Regions from separate parts of the Homo sapiens genome. Here region 2 is linked to region 1. The links are contacts of gene promoters, found by promoter capture Hi-C in blood cells and fetal thymus (Javierre and others, 2016). All regions are on one chromosome and are shown on one strand. The core of a region is centred on a gene start or on the middle of the fragment in contact, and the rest is flanking DNA. Distances in the headings are between cores, read along the strand shown.

What was found. The method cuts DNA at HindIII sites, captures the fragments that hold promoters and counts their contacts. A CHiCAGO score of 5 or more calls a contact.
Region 2: a contact is called between a fragment that was not itself captured here and the fragment with the promoter of DEFB118 in region 1, in 1 of 17 cell types (M1 macrophages). The highest score is 5.1, in M1 macrophages.

What each region holds. Positions count from the first base shown.
Region 1 is chr20:31,367,311-31,370,621 of GRCh38, forward strand. It overlaps DEFB118 (defensin beta 118), which reads left to right and starts at 1,291. Exons shown (of 2, transcript NM_054112.3): 1 at 1,291-1,398. The coding sequence starts at 1,341. The HindIII fragment of the contact is 1,593 bases long and covers 278-1,870 here.
Region 2 is chr20:31,497,364-31,500,460 of GRCh38, forward strand. No RefSeq gene overlaps it. Among named protein-coding and RNA genes, the nearest start is that of LINC00028, 13 kb to the left of the region's middle. The HindIII fragment of the contact is 1,249 bases long and covers 864-2,112 here.

The DNA of each region.
Region 1 (3,311 bases), core at 41-2,540:
GGATTGCTTGAGCTCAGGAGCTTGAGGCTGCAATGAGCTGTGATCGCACCACTGCACCCTAGCCTGGGCTACAGAGCGAGATCCTGTCTCAAAAAAATAAAAACATAAAACAAAATTAATTTGAAAATAGCCCACCACCATGCTACGCTTTCCACATGGTTCCATCCAGAAGAGAAGTCTCCTCAATCACATGGCAACCCTGCTAATTCCCATCAATTATTCTCACAGTGAAAGTTATCAATTCCAGAAGAGAAAAATCAGCAACCTCCTCTGTAAAAGCTTTACAGAGACTTTTAGAGCCGAGTAAACAAGAGGGAGCAAAAGTTGAAACACGATGAAAATGCAACTAAAGCAATGCAGGACCTAGGCTGACTCTGGGGGTGACATCGAGGTTCCACATCCCAAAGGCAAGTCTAAATGTTGGGGTCTTCATGGACAGCTCCCAGACCTCTGATGACCCTCATGGTGCCGTTGTCAAAGGTAACATCCCAAATTATTGTAGATCTGTCTTCAGCAGGGATTTTTTTTTTTTTTTTTGAGACAGAGTCTCACTCTGTTGCCCAGGCTGGAGTGCAGTGGTGCGATCTCAGCTCACTGCAACTTCCACCTCCTGGGTTTAAGCGATTCTCCTGACTCAGCCTCCTGAGTAGCTTGGATTACAGGCACCCACCACCACACCCAGCTAGGGAATTTTTTTTTTAATGACATTGGGTAGCATCCCCCTTTGAGTCTTATAAATGATCTCCCTCAAACTTCTGCAGCAAGTGACTTCTTGGGCAAGTCATTTTCCCTGTTGGGCACATATGTAAGAGAGGGATTTGGCTTATAGATTGACATGTGTTCATTATCGTTTATTTCCACAAACCTTCACTGAGAGCATGCTTCGTGCCTTGGGGGCTCAAAAATGAAAGACACGTTCCCTACTCTCAGGAATTTCACAGGCTGGTGCGGGGAGACACACAGATAAGTAGACCATTCAAAAGTAGGTTTATGCTAGAGTGAGAGGGGCTGTGAAGAAGGGCTGAGCCCTAATGAGAGATCGGGGAAAGCTAGGGAAGATGTCCCAGTGTGAATCTTCCCTCTCCATTGCTCCAAACACCTCCTCAAAACCTGTGACTTGTAACCCTCTGCATGCCCTCCCAGTGCCTGGATCAAATGCTCAGCTTATGTGCCACACACTAGACTGATGTTATGCATGGATAAGCTCTTAGATATCCGGCTGGTTCTGTGCCCATCCCTCTGCCCCCACTGCAGAGAGGCCAATAAAACTCTTGTTCAGACTCACACTGCACACAGTATTCTGAACTCCTGGATCTACCACCTCCTGCTTCCCAAGGACCATGAAACTCCTGCTGCTGGCTCTTCCTATGCTTGTGCTCCTACCCCAAGTGATCCCAGGTAATCAGAGGTCAGGGAAGATACAAAAATAGAGGTATAGTGGGTTCTGGCTCATGAAAATTCCAATGTGTCACGGTACTCCCCAACATGGGCAGCTCCACAGTTCCCACACTGGGACTATGCTCCTGGCTGGGGTAAAACCTGGGAGTAGAGCAAGTTATCCTCAATAGACAGGGGCAGTCCCACCATCCAGAGTTGTCCTTGGTTCTATATTCCAAGTTGCCGCCTAAGAAACTAGGGGAAAGCTCGGCTCACATCTGTTCTCTTTCCAGATTGTGCCAGCTTTTGAAAATGATTCCTGCAGCCCACTTTGCTATGTTTTCTTGGCCCTAAAAGTCCTGCTATAGCTATAATGAGGTTCTTTTTGTTTTCTAATATTCTAGAATTTGGTGAACAAGTCAGAAAACACTGGTAGAGCTGTTACACGGAAGACAGAACTGGCTTTTCTTCTTCCTTCTACAGTGAAAATCTAAGCTTTTCATAATCACTGCTTTCTTAAGTATATCTAAAGGCATGACCAGAACTTTGAAATCACTGGTGAAGAGAGCCTGTTTCTCCTTTATGTTTTTCAAGGTGCATTTCAATGTATGATCGAACTTACATAAAAATGAATCTAAATATTTCTGTTTTATAACGAAGTAAGCACACTCCCTGCATGGCTATGCAGCACTCTTGTGTTTTTTTTTTTTTTTTTTTTTGAAGATGGAATCTCAATCTGTCACCCAGGCTGGAGTGCAGTGGCGCAATCTCAGCTCACTGCAACCTCTGCCTCCTGGGTTCAAGCAATTCTCCTGCCTCAGCCTCCCAAGCAGCTGGGATTACAGGCATGCACCATCATGTCCGACTAATTTTTGTATTTTTAGTAGAGATGGGGTTTCACCATGTTGGCAAGGCTGGTCTCAAACTCTTGACCTCGGGTGATCCATCCGCCTCGGTCTCCCAAAGTGCTGGGATTACAGGCATGAGCCACCGCACCCGGCCCTATGCAGCACTCTTCTTTCACTTATTATTTTGTGGCCATCTTTCCATGTCACCATCTAAAGATCTGCCTTATTGTTTGTAAAGTTGTATAGTTCTGCTGTAGGATAAGCCATATAAAGTCATATATAGCCATTTGAGACATTTCTTAATTTTCGAACAAGACATCAATGAATATGCTTGTACAAACATTAATATATTTACATATATGGATATGGGCTTAAATAGGATAGATTCCTAGAGGGCAAATAACCAAGTTAAATGTAAGTCTGGTGGGGGTGGGCAAGAAAATTAAAAATATATATTTGTTCCATTAATTCCTCTATTCCTCTGCCCTCATTGCAGAGAGGCCAATAACTCTTGTTCAGACTCCCACTGCACACAGCGTTCTGAACGCCTGGGTCTACCCTGGCGTTCAGGGTAGGGAAACAGGGAAACCTCTCCTGTTTCCCAGGGACCATGAAACTCCTGCTGCTGGCTCTTCCTATGCTTGTGTTCCTACCCCAAGGGATTCTGGGTAACCAGAAGTCAGTAATCAGAAGTTGTGTATCTTAAAGGACACTGCCAGCAGAAATTGCCAACTCTGGGGGTTTTTAGTAATTCTTCAGTTACAATTCCAGACACAAACAGGAATAATTCTGTGTGATCACTTTGAAAGCAATTGTGTCTGCTTTGAGTGCTAGTGGAGATATTGAGACTAGGAAAGAGACAGATGTGAAAGATTTTGTACATGAAATCCACAAGTTATAAAAACTCAGCATATGGGAAGTGAAGGAAATATTACATGATCTGGGGTTTCAAGTCTGAGTGTTAAGAGTGATAAATTGGAGCCATCCTCTTGGAGCAAAGAGTTAAGATAATGAAAGAAGCATAAAGTCTTGATGCTTTATCTTAAAAAGCCCCTACATTTGGGGAAGAAGAATAGAAATCAGTGA
Region 2 (3,097 bases), core at 238-2,737, 130 kb after region 1:
TAAATCTCCTCTTGCTACTCACAATGCCCATAATTCCACCATTATGGATACAACCAAGGCTCTTGTTCAGTATACAAAGGTATGGTCATACTAATCATTAAAATATTTAAATGCATTCCTACTAGTTGGTAATAACCCATGCCCTGAGTGTCCTCCAAGTACCAGGTATAACAGACCCTCCAGGCCTTCCTCTGGAAGCCTCCAGGGCCCCTCCCCTTAACAGCCATTAAAGGGGTAGTACCCTTACCACGGCAGGGCCACCCAGGGCTATGTGGATCATCAGTAAGTGATGGTCACAACCATTATTACTACTTTTCATATCACTCCTGGAAACAACCCTTTGGATCACAACTTTGTCTCCTGTTTAAAGGCAAATGGTAGAAATTTAGAGGTGAAGAGGCCCTGTGCAATCTCTTCATCTTTCAGATGAGGAAACTAACGCCCAGGGAGAAGCAGAGACTTGCCCAAGGTCACACTGCCAGGCAGTGTAAAACAAGGTATTAGAATGCAGGTCCCTGACTCCTGACACTTCCTTTAGGTGTCAGTTTATCTGGACCCCACACACTGAACTTGAGCAGGTAATGGAAGGAAGTGATGGGGAGGGACCTGTCTCAAGAAAGAAGTGAGAACCAATCATTTGGCTCTTTACCTGGTCACCATAGTCATGGCAACAGTCTCCTTGGTCACTATCTCCTTAGAGATAGTTGCCATGGCAACCACTACCCCGGGGCACCAACTTTCTGACACCCAAGAGCCTTAAGATAAACCAGAAGCAAGTCTGTTCCATAGCACTAACCCATATCAGAGCTCCGAGTAGGAAAGAGACTTGCCCAACATCACACAGCAAGCTGGCAGTGAAGTCAAGCTTCCTGAGTCCCCCACCCGAGGCTCTCACAGCAGCCCCACCCTCTCTACAGCTGACACCGCCCCTCCCCCACCTATCCCCATTTTTCTGCCTGCTTTGGTGCTTCCCACATTCCTCCAGCCCTCAGTCAGGATCTCCTTCCCACGGCATCTCACCCTTGGCTGCCTGTCAGCCAGCCCATCCTCCTGGGAACAGGCTGACATGAGTTTTGTGTAGGACTCATCGCAGGGGTTTGCAACATTGGCTGAGGCTCCCTGAAGACCAAAGAGCCTTCAACATCCTTTGCCCTCCAAAGGAAATAATCTCCAATGGTGGAATTTCAGGCTCTATGCTCAGAACTGAGTAGCTCTTTTTGGGGGGTCGGGCCCATCCGCTGTGTAAGGCAGAAGTTGCTGCCCCACTCTGAGTCTAGAATCACTCCGAGTCTGATCCCCTGTTTTGTTTTTATCAAGTCCCTTTTCCTCTCTGGGACTCAGTATCCCCACCAAAGACAAGGGGATGAGGATACCGTTCTACAGTCACCACCACCACCACCATCAGAAGACTGCCAGAGACCAGACGCAATCTAGTGTTTCAGTATAACCAAACAAGGAATGGCCATGGTTTAAAGAACTGGCCTACCTTCCCGCTATCTTCTTTTAGAAAAATGGAATCTCAGGATTGGAAGGATGTCCCAGGCACAGGGAAGATCTTGAGCAAAAGCAGGGAGGCTGAAAAGAATCTAGGGAACCTGTGACTACCTAGTGTGTTGACGTGTAAGGATAAAGAGAAAGTAGGGCCTATAATCCCAGCACTTTGGGAGGCCAAGGAAGGAGGATCAATTGAGCTCAAGAGTTCGAGACCAGCCTGGGCAATACAGTAAGACCCCACATCTAAAAGAATATAAATAAATAAATAAATAAACACAGAGAAAGTAGCCTAGCAGGACAAGCCAGAGGAGATTAAAAGGGATCAGTCACCAGTCCCAGGGCTAAGGACGTTGTCTCTGACGCCTCCTTTCTGTCCTTCTGTTCCTGCCCTCAAAAGCAATGAGCACCAAGCATTTGCAAACTCCAAGTCTCAGGGCTTCAGGGACTCACCAAAGATGCTGAGGCACTCCCCTGCCTGGGTCTAACCTGTGCAATTCTGATACTGTGGGATGGAGGGGATGGAGCTGCATAGGTTGAAGGGCAAAAGAGAGCAAGGAGCACTGCAGGAAATCATCCACTCATCCATTCATTTGATGAATATTTATTAAATGCAACCCAAGCTTGTGACCTTGGGCAAGTTATTTAGCCTGTCTGTACCTCGGAGTCCTTGTGTGCATAATGAGGACAGTGGAGATGCCTGCCCCGTACGATGGTGTGAGGATCAAGTGAGTTTGTAAATGTTTAGTGCAGTGCATGGGAAGCAAATCAGTACCCCATGCATGTGTGTTATAATTATAATGATTACTGAACATTTACTATGTGCTGGGCACTCTCTAGACAGTAGAAGTACTGGGTGAAGTTCAGTGTGAACACAACATGCATAATTTCTGCCCTCAAGGAGTTCACAGTCTAATAGGAGAGACAAACCAAAAAAGACAACTTTATTAAAATAATACAAAGAGGCCAGGCGCGGTGGCTCACACCTGTAATCCCAGCACTTTGGGAGGCCGAGGTGAGCGGATCACCTGAAGTCAGGAGTTCGAGACCAGCCTGGCCAACATGGTGAAACCCCTTCTCTACTAAAAATATAAAAATCAGCTGAGCATGGTGGCACACACCTGTAATCCCAGCAACTCAGGGCGCTGAGGCAGGAGAATCACTTGAACCTGGGAAGCTGAGGTGGCAGTAAGCCAAGATCATACCACTACACTCCAGCCTGAGCAACAGAGCAAGACTCCATCTCAAAACAATAATAATAATAAAAAGAATTACAAATTATTGCATCAGATCTAAATCTTAACCTCCAAACTCAAGTGTGCAAGAAATATTCATTTTTTTATTTTCTCAAAAAGCAAATTCTACTCCTATCCCCTACTCCCATCCTTCTGGGCTGCATGGAAATTCAGTCTCCATCCTTACTGAAGCCACTCCATGACAAGAAACAAGGAGGGAAGACAGGGACTCCGCCTGGCACTGAACCACGTGAAGCCTCTGACCACGGTGCCCAAGCCCTCAATAGCCCCTGAAATCCAGCAGCCCCTGCAAGCCAAGCCAAGCGAGGGGCCTGGGAGTCTTGCTGGAGGCTGGAATCACCAGGCCTGAA